2 separate regions of the Homo sapiens genome follow, and region 1 is linked to region 2. Evidence: promoter capture Hi-C in 16 types of primary human blood cells and fetal thymus (Javierre and others, 2016). All regions are on one chromosome and are shown on one strand. Each heading gives the region's core, a stretch centred on a gene start or on the middle of the fragment in contact. The rest is flanking DNA. Distances are from core to core; before and after follow the strand shown.

Region 1 (2,700 bases), core at 1-2,500, 1.1 Mb before region 2:
CCTGGCGATGGCAGGATGTAGCCACCTTCCCTGTGCAAATCCCTCCCTCAACAAACAACACAGCTGTCACAGCTGTGCTGGATCAGCCCTCAACCAGCTCTTCACCTTGGGGTATCTGAAGGGGATGTGTGGCTTATGATACCCAACGGCCAGGAAGAAAGGACTGGCTGACGTTTTCATCTTTTCCAACAACTGTATGGCTTGCTCAGTGCTCTGTTTGTCAGGCAAGGTGCCCTCGGGAACATCCAGCACATCCACAGGGCAAAGCAGGTTGGCATGGAGTTCTCCATCTGGCCCTCGACATGTCTTTCAAAACAAAATAATATAACATCAGCTTTTTAAGTGCAAGAAATGAAGCCATGAAGGCTACACACACAGATTTAATGTTCACATAATCAGCCCTTCACGTGTTAGTCACTCAGACTGAACAGAGACATCAGAAGTAGAACTAAGACAGAAAAGGTGTTTCTTGTTTTCCAGGCAGGGGCCAGAAATCCACTAGCACTTGGTTTCTTGCTACTAATACTCTTTCTCCAGATCATAACTAATTAAAAGAAACCCCGATAGACTAATTATAAAAAAAAATCCATCTCTAATTCAACAATTAAAAAATGCCAATTAAAAATGGGCAAAGGATTTGGATAGACATTTCTCCAAAGATGATATACAAATGGCCAATTGAACATGGAAATGTGGCTAACATCATTAGTCATTAGGGAAATGCAAATCAAAACCACTTCACACCCAAAAGGATGGTTATAATTTTTTAAGATGGAAAATAACAAGTGTTGACGAGGATGCAGAAAAATTAGAACCCTCTCACATTGCTGGTGGGAATGTAAAATAGTGCAGCCACTTTGAAAGCCAGTCTGGCAATTCCTCAAACAGTTAAACATAGTTATTATACCCAAAAAAATTAAAAACATATGCCCATAAAAACACTTGTACAAAAATGTCGAGGGCAGCATTATTCCTAATAGTCAAAAGTAGAAACAACCCAAATATCCATCAAGTGATGAACTGATAAACAAAATGTGGTACAATAGACAATTATGCAGCCATAAAAAGGAATGAAAGGCTGGGTGCGGTGGCTCACACCTCTAATCCCAGCACTCTGGGAGATGAGTGGATTGCCTGAGGTAAGGAGTTCGAGACCAGCCTGACCAACATGGTGAAACCCCGTCTCTACTAAAAATACAAACATTAGCTGGGTGTGGTGGTGGGCACCTGTAATCCCAGCTACTCGGAAGGCTGAGGCAGGAGAATCATCGCTTGAACCTGGGAGGTGGAGGCTACAGTGAGCTGAGATTGCGCCATTGCACTCCAGCCTGGGTGACAAGAGTGAAACTCCATCTCAAAAAAAAAAAAAAAAAGGAATGAAGTACCAATTTATACTGTTATGTGGCTGAACCTCAAAAACATTATTCTAAGTGAAAGAAGCCAGAAACAAATGGCTACATAGTGTATGACTCTATTTATACCAAATGGACAAAATAGGCAAATCCATGGAGACCAAAAATAGTTCAGTTGTTGTCCCACGCTGGGTGCTGAGACAAAATGAGGAACGACTGGTAATGGGTACAGGGTTTCTTTTGAGAGCGATAAAAATGATCTAAGATCGATTTGGGTGATGGCTGCATAGCTCCGTGAGTATGCTAAAAACCATTAAATTATATACTTCAAAAGGGAGAGTTTTATGGTATATGAACTCTATTTTAATTAAAAATTTAAAAAGAAAAAAAAAACCCATTTCAAATTTCAAAGACAGGCTAAGGCTTGTAAGTGACAGGGTCCCAATCAACTTGATAAGGTGACAGTCCATGGAATTTCCAGAACTTCAGCTACACTAGGCACAGAATGAAACCTCCTGCTTTGCTTCCTAAAGTAGACATGCTGGCCGTGAGACCAAAGTTAGTTCTGACCATGATTTGTATACCACAAAGACCGAGGGGCTGTGTCAGCTGCTGTTCCATCTCAAAGAGTGTTGCCTTTTCACAGCCCTGCCTTGCTCACCCCACCCTTGGGCAGGACAGCCCAGCACCCGCCTCAGACCACTTGTTCATCATCTATATATACACGATTTGCAGCACTCGAGGGAGATTTAGTATTGTCAGACCCACCACTTTGAGAAGAAATGGGTAGGGGGCAGTTAGGGCAGGGACCTGGCATTCGTAAGTGAGGCCACTAAAAAGAAGCAAGATGGCTTCAGGGAATTAAGATGGGATCTTCCCTATTCAAGCCACAAGCCAAAGGCCAGAGCTCACAGTTTTCACTGTATTCTGAAATGGAAAGCTGTCAAGAACTTAGAACAATACCTTCCACCTCACTTCCAAATCCTCACCCTTCCCAACACGATGTTTACTAAAACCTCAGAGATACATTTCATGTCTCAGTTCCCTAGCTGGTTTTCTGAGTTTCTTAAATGTGGGTTTTAGTTTCATTTATACATTTGGGATTCCTCTAAACCAAGATTTTCTTTGTAGGTTACTTTTTTTCATAATGCTCTAAAAATTCAAAACCCCTATCAGAGGTCTCAGCTGCTGAACATACACATTAGGTCAGAGACAGATACACGGCATGCCTTTCTCCCATTCTGGGCTGAGGCTCCTGGAGCTCAGCCTCTTTTCTCCCTCCCATGTCTCAGCATCTCCTACAACTCTCAGTCTCATCCAGCGTGAGCACTGGGGAGCTATTCAATGA
Region 2 (6,134 bases), core at 3,213-5,712:
TCCAAAATGTAATATAAATGGCATCATGCAGTATATAATATTTTGTGTACAGTTTATTTCATTTAGCATGATATTTTTGAGATTCATTCAAGTTGTAGCATATATCAATAGTTCTTCCTTTTTATTGCTGAGTAATATTCCATTGGGTGCATATATCACCATTGGCTTAGCTATGGGTTTAATCAGTGGGGATTTGAGATGCTTACATTCTTTTACTATTTTTTATTATTATTATTATTATTTTGAGAGGAGTCTCACTCTGTCGCCAGGCTGGAGTGCAGTGGCACGATCTCGGCTCAGTGCAACCTCCGCCTCCCGGGTTCAAGCGATTCTCCTGCCTCAGCTTCCTGAGTAGCTGGGATTACAGGTGCACGCCACCAAGGCTGGCTATTTTTTGTATTTTTAGTAGAGACGGGGTTTCACCATGTTGGCCAGGATGGTCTCGATCTCTTGACCTTGTGATCCACCCACCTCGGCCTCCCAAAGTGCTGGGATTACAGGCGTGAACCACCGCGCCCAGCTTTTGACTATTATTTTTGAAAGGCTGCTGTGAATATTTGAATACACGTCTTTTTGTGAACGTATGTTTCCATATATCTTGGATAAATACCTAGGAATAGTATTGCTCGGCCATATGTACATTTACCTTTGTAATTCACTGCCAAACCATTTTCCAAAGGGGCTGCACTATCCTGCTGAGGCTGCTTTTTAAATACAGACTGGGGTTGGGGAGGAGGAGGTAGGCAGAGCTGCTTTGCAGTTCTCCTAGATTCAGAAGTTAGACCTGGCATTCATGTGCTTCACAACAAGCTTATGAAGGAGTTAATGAATAAAACCCATTTCACAGATGAGGAAGTAGAGGTTTGGAGAGGTGTACTTGCCCGAAGTCACACACCTAACAAATGGAAGAGCTAGGATTTAAACCCTGGAACCTTTGTGTCAGTGCACAGGGGCTTACCCCCTATCCTCTCCCATCTCTCTCCCCAGTGATCACCGTGGCAACTTGGGAATTCTGCTGCCTTGACACTCTATACATCACATTTACATCTATCCTCAAGGGGACACAACGACCCTGGGAGGTGGCATTCAACCCCTTTTTTTCAGAGGAAGCAGTTAATGATCAGAGAGGTGAAGTGACTTTCCCAAGGCCAACAGCTTGCCTATAGAATTTCTGGGACCTGAATCAGGTTTCCTAGTTCCAAGTGCTTTCTGCTAGAGCATGGTAACCCACAGCTACATTTAAAATTTTTCATTCCTAATTTTCTTTTTCTTCAGCCTTCTCTTTCCTCAGTAAGAATGCCCCTCCCTTTCCTCCACCTTCCCCTGCCTCAGGCCCAATACATTGAACCTGGTAGGATTAAGTTGAGGCAGGAGTGGGGACTGGGGAGATCAGAGCATAGAGGCCAAGGGAGAAGTAGCAGGAAACAGGCCATTTCCTCGCTCGGGCCTGCTTCTTATCTAGGAGGTGAGAGGCCAGAGGTGGAGGTAAGGGATGAAGCCAACCAAATCCAGAGTGCAGGCTCCTCCTGGTGCTGCCTAGCCTGCCTCCCCCAACTGCAGAGAACAGGATGAAGCCTCTGAAGGTAGGAGGTGCCTCCAGCCCTCCAGCCTGTGCCTTAGCAAAAGCGGGAGGACTCTGGGGGAGAGGGGCGGAAACAGGTGTAGGCTGTGCTACTCAGAAGGGTTGTGGAAGAAGCAGCCTGAGGTCGCATCTATTGCCCCCTCCTCTCTATTGTCCTGGAGCCCTGGAGAGGGAGGCCAGCCATCTTCTCACAGGCCTCCTGCATGATGGGGGGGTGTATGTGTGCAAAATGCAGGGAAGCCTGAAGATTCCTACACACACACACACACACACACACACACACACACACACACTGAAATGTGAGTGCAGCCCCAGCCTGGAAGAGGGCAGGCTCAGTCAAGAATACAGCGATGTCACCAAGGGCAAGGCGGTAACCCCTCCATAGTGTACAACCTTGTTTGTTTGTTTGTTTTGAGATGGAATCTCACTCTGTCACCCAGGCTGAAGTGTAGTGGTGCAATCTCAGCTCACTGCAACCTTCACCACCCGGGTTCAAGTAATTCTCCTGCCTCAGCCTCCCGATTAGCTGGGATTACAGGCGCCCACCACCACGCCTGGCTAATTTTTTTGTATTTTTAGTAGAGACGGGGTTTCACCATGTTGGCCAGGTTGGTTTCGAACTCCTGACCTCAAGTGATCCGCCCGCCTCGGCCTCCCAAGGTGCTGGGATCACAGGCCTGAGCCACCGCGCCCAGCCCATAGTGTACAACCTTTACAGTTTTCAAAGTGCTTCCTCATCTGTTGCCTCATTCGATCTCTGCACCTACACCGTGAGACAGGCACGGCAGGGGTTACTCTCTCCATTTCACAGGCCAAAGGCTAATCTTCTCTACTGGCCCTTTCTGGTTGAATTGCATCTTTCTAGAGGTGGGGCTGGGCTGGGGCTGGACCCTGGAAAAATCTTCAGGAATTACCTCCTTAGGATGAGACCATCCCTGCTCTGCACCTTCCCCACCTCCTAACCCCCAGCTCCTCCCAGCTCCATCGAAAAGCTTTGGCCTCATCTTGGGACACTTAACCAGGCCTATTATATGCAAGGTATCCCAGGCAGCTGCTGCCCTCCCTCCACCCATCCCCATTTTCCTCTATCCCTCTGCCCTAAGATTCACAGATACCAGGAATCCAGAGTTATTCAGCAGCCCACCAGGGAGCCTCTCTAGCATGCAAATTTACTGAGCGTGCTTTGAAATTCAGCACAAAAGTGAATGAGATTCAAAGGAGTTCATAGTCTGGGGAGGGGAGTTGGCAGAGCAGACGTGTAAGCAAATGATGACATCAGTACAACAAGAAGGGCTGGGTGGGGGAGACTTCTAATTGTGCGGGGGCCCAGGAGCAGCTGCTATTCTGCTGTCTTTCCAGGAGTTTGGCAAATCCAGGAGAGAGGACCAAGTGGAAAGGGCTGGAGGAAAGAAAAAACCCAGTGCATCAAGTTCCCTGGAACTAGGCCAGAGCTTGGGGTGAAGAGCAAAAAGAGGCACACTGGGAGAAGTGGCTAAAGAGTGGGTTGGGTTGGATTCTGGATGGCTTTGTTACTCTTCTAAGAAGTCTAGACTCTTCAATAAAGCATATATATATGCATATATAAATGATATATGAATATATGTGTATATGTGTGTGACTATGTAGAAACACACGTACACATATACACTGGTATCAGGTAAAATGCTGTTTTTAGATGCTGGAGAACTAACACATACAAGAGAAAAAAAACAGGTCATGATAAAGTCATCCTATTTACTCGAACTGCTCGCGTATAAGTATTATGCAGTACAAAGAATATTATGCTCATTTTTCTATGTGCCAGGTTGTCTTTTCTTTTTTTAATTTTTTTGACACGCAGTCTCGCTTTGTCACACAGGCTGGAGTGCAGTGGTGCCATCTCAGCTCACTGCAACCTCTCCCTCCCGGGTTCAAGCGATTCTCTTGCCTCAGCTTCCCGAGCAGCTGGTATTACAGACACCTGCCACCACGCCTGGATAATTTTTGTATTTTTAGTAGAGACGAGGTTTCACCATGTCGTCCAGGCTGGTCTCGAACTCCTGACCTCAGGTGATCCGCCTGCGTTGGCCTCCCAAAGTGCTAGGATTACAGGCGTGAGCCACCGCGCCCGGCCCAGATTGTTTGTTTTATTTGATTACACAATGAATTCTCTTCTTGAAGTTTGCCTTTCTTCTCTTTTTCCTGTCCCTTTCTTTTTACTGTATCAATAGTTGTCTGACCCAAACCTCAACAAGTAGAAGGAATTTTGGACTGAAATGTTTCCGTTCACTAAGTCTCAATTGCGTTCTTGGAAAGGTGCTGGCACAGCTGAGGGACACCCCAGCTGTTAGTTGAGTTTGTGAATTGCAGATCCTGCCCCAGAGTCAGTGAAATTTCTTTTTCCCTTATACTATCTCAACTTTACGCAGCCAACCCTGTGTACCCAATAATAGCTCAATTTAGTGGCATCCGCTAAAGTCTTGTATAGAGAAGTTTTCCCTCTGGATTTCCCCTTTACTGAAGAAAAATGGGGAGACCCAGACAAGGGTCCCGGGACTACGCTTCCCAGCCGCCTCCGCCCGGCGCCCAGTCCAACTTCCCTTACAGGGATGGCCCCTGGCATCTTGGCCCCGCCCATCCCCAGCACCATATTGCGAACTACAATTCCCAGCTGCCTCCATGCGTCGGACCCTTCAAAATGGGCTTCCCAGCAGCCTCTCGGGCGAAGAGCCCCGCCCTTCGGAGCTGCTCCCCAGGTCGACCCGGCGCACTCTTCCTGCCCCCTGCCCCGTCACGTGATGCAGTCCCGCCAACCGGCACGGGGAGGCGGGCAGCGGGCGGTGGCCGGGGGCGGGCAGGCCGTGGGGGGCGGACCCCAGAGGGGGCGGAGCAGGGCCCGGCAGCCGAGCAGCCTGGCAACGGCGGTGGCGCCCGGAGCCCGAGGTGGGTGCGCGCTCACGGCTGGCCTGGCTCGGAGCCGGGCACTGCGGGGACCCGTGGTGAGGGGATCGGGAGGAGGAAGTTGGGACTCCTTGGGCCAGCGGGTCGCGCGGGGCCTTGCCGCACCGTCAGGGTTGGGTGGGGGTTTCGTCCAAGCGCCGTCGCTGTCCCCGCGGGGCAGGGCTGAGGCCAGGGAGCAGCAGGCAGGTACCTCCGGCTTCCTCCCGTTCTCCCCGCCCAAGGTGGCCGGCCGGCGGCGGGCGAAGGTCGGGACGGGGGTAGGGGTTGGCTGGCCGTGGAGCTGGGGGCGGACGTCTCAGCCACTGCCTGGACTTTGCTTCCCCGTCCCGGGGCGGTGAGTGGGCCGGGCGTCCGCCCTGCCTCCCCGGCGACGCTCCGCGGCTGGTCCTCGCCTTGGCCCTCCGCACGGAGCGGGCGTCCGTCGCATCCCCGGTGGGCCCTGCGGAGCGGCCGCAGCCCGGCACTGGCCGCGAAGCCTCGATGGCCGCTCTCGGCCAGTGTTTCTGTGTCATACACGAGAGGTTTATCTGCTTTTGCAACAGTTGAGGGAAGATCTTAGAGGGAACGGTTAGTTCCCTGATACGCAGTCGGAAGTATGTACAGGCACGAGCAAGCGCCCGTGGCCGGGTTGCCTCCCTTAACTGTCTTTTGCTGCGCTCAGGAAGTGAAAACTAATTTTAGTATTTGCCTAAGCAAGTAAGAAGTGAATCTGCTGCAAAAATTATATTAGAGCTTTATAGACGCACGCATCGTTTGAGGCGAAGTGGGTTGCGACTGGTTTTGAAACAGATACACCAGATCTTCACAAGAATAAAATTATAGCATTTTAGAATTGACTGGCATCCTGAAGTTTACATTGTTCATTTGTTTCCTGGATGGGGGAACTGAGGCCCAGAGAGGGTAACTAATATGTCCCGGGCTTCAGGGCAACTTAATGGCAAAGCTAATATCACAAGCCAGCTCTTTGGGGGTATCTTGGTGTCTGTCTAGTCTGGATTCTTTTTACCACAGCTCAGTATTATTCCTTGTGAAATAAGCACCTTAGAGTCTTGAGACTGAGCCAGCAATTTTGCTAGACTGCAAACCATTTTGAATTTCCTTCAAAATCGGTTTACCAACCAAATAAGACAATCAGGCCTGTTACTTTGCAGACACGTTTGCCTTCATCCAACATATATATTGGGCACGATCATGTATTCACCAGATTTGATTCTGAATGGCTTTTGGCTGCTTCACAAAATCAAATCTACTTTTCAGAGATTCCACACCATGGGGGAGATTTGAACCAGTGGTGCTGCCTGCAGCACCAGTGTATAGTACCCTCCCGGGTGCTTGAGGGTGGATAACATTCACGGGGGGCTTGTAGATTCTAGTGTAGTTAGTAAATGATTGGTCTCTTTAACTTAAAGTTCTAACTACATTTATTAAGTTGTCGATGGTTTCATTCATTCATCAAACACAAGAATGCCAACGGTGGGCACTGGGAAGACAGCAAAGAGCCCCACTGCTGAGGTCCCTGCCTTATAGAGTTTATATGTGGGGAGGCACACAATAAAAAAATAAACAATGATATATTTTCTGGCAGAGATGAGCGCTATGAGAAAAAATAGAG

What was found. Contacts are between HindIII fragments. The CHiCAGO score rates a contact against its expected background, and 5 or more counts as called.
Region 1: a contact is called between a fragment that was not itself captured here and the fragment with the promoter of MTM1 in region 2, in 4 of 17 cell types (non-activated CD4 T cells, total B cells, neutrophils and 1 more). The highest score is 8.6, in non-activated CD4 T cells.

What each region holds. Positions count from the first base shown.
Region 1 is chrX:149,498,002-149,500,701 of GRCh38, forward strand. It overlaps IDS (iduronate 2-sulfatase), which reads right to left. Exons shown (of 9, transcript NM_000202.8): 5 at 106-306. Among named protein-coding and RNA genes, the nearest start is that of IDS, 6.0 kb to the right of the region's middle. The HindIII fragment of the contact is 4,525 bases long and covers 1-2,700 here.
Region 2 is chrX:150,564,159-150,570,292 of GRCh38, forward strand. It overlaps MTM1 (myotubularin 1), which reads left to right and starts at 4,463. Exons shown (of 15, transcript NM_000252.3): 1 at 4,463-4,504. RefSeq lists enhancers at 1,136-2,058, 2,059-2,980 and a silencer at 4,265-4,944. The HindIII fragment of the contact is 5,391 bases long and covers 2,573-6,134 here.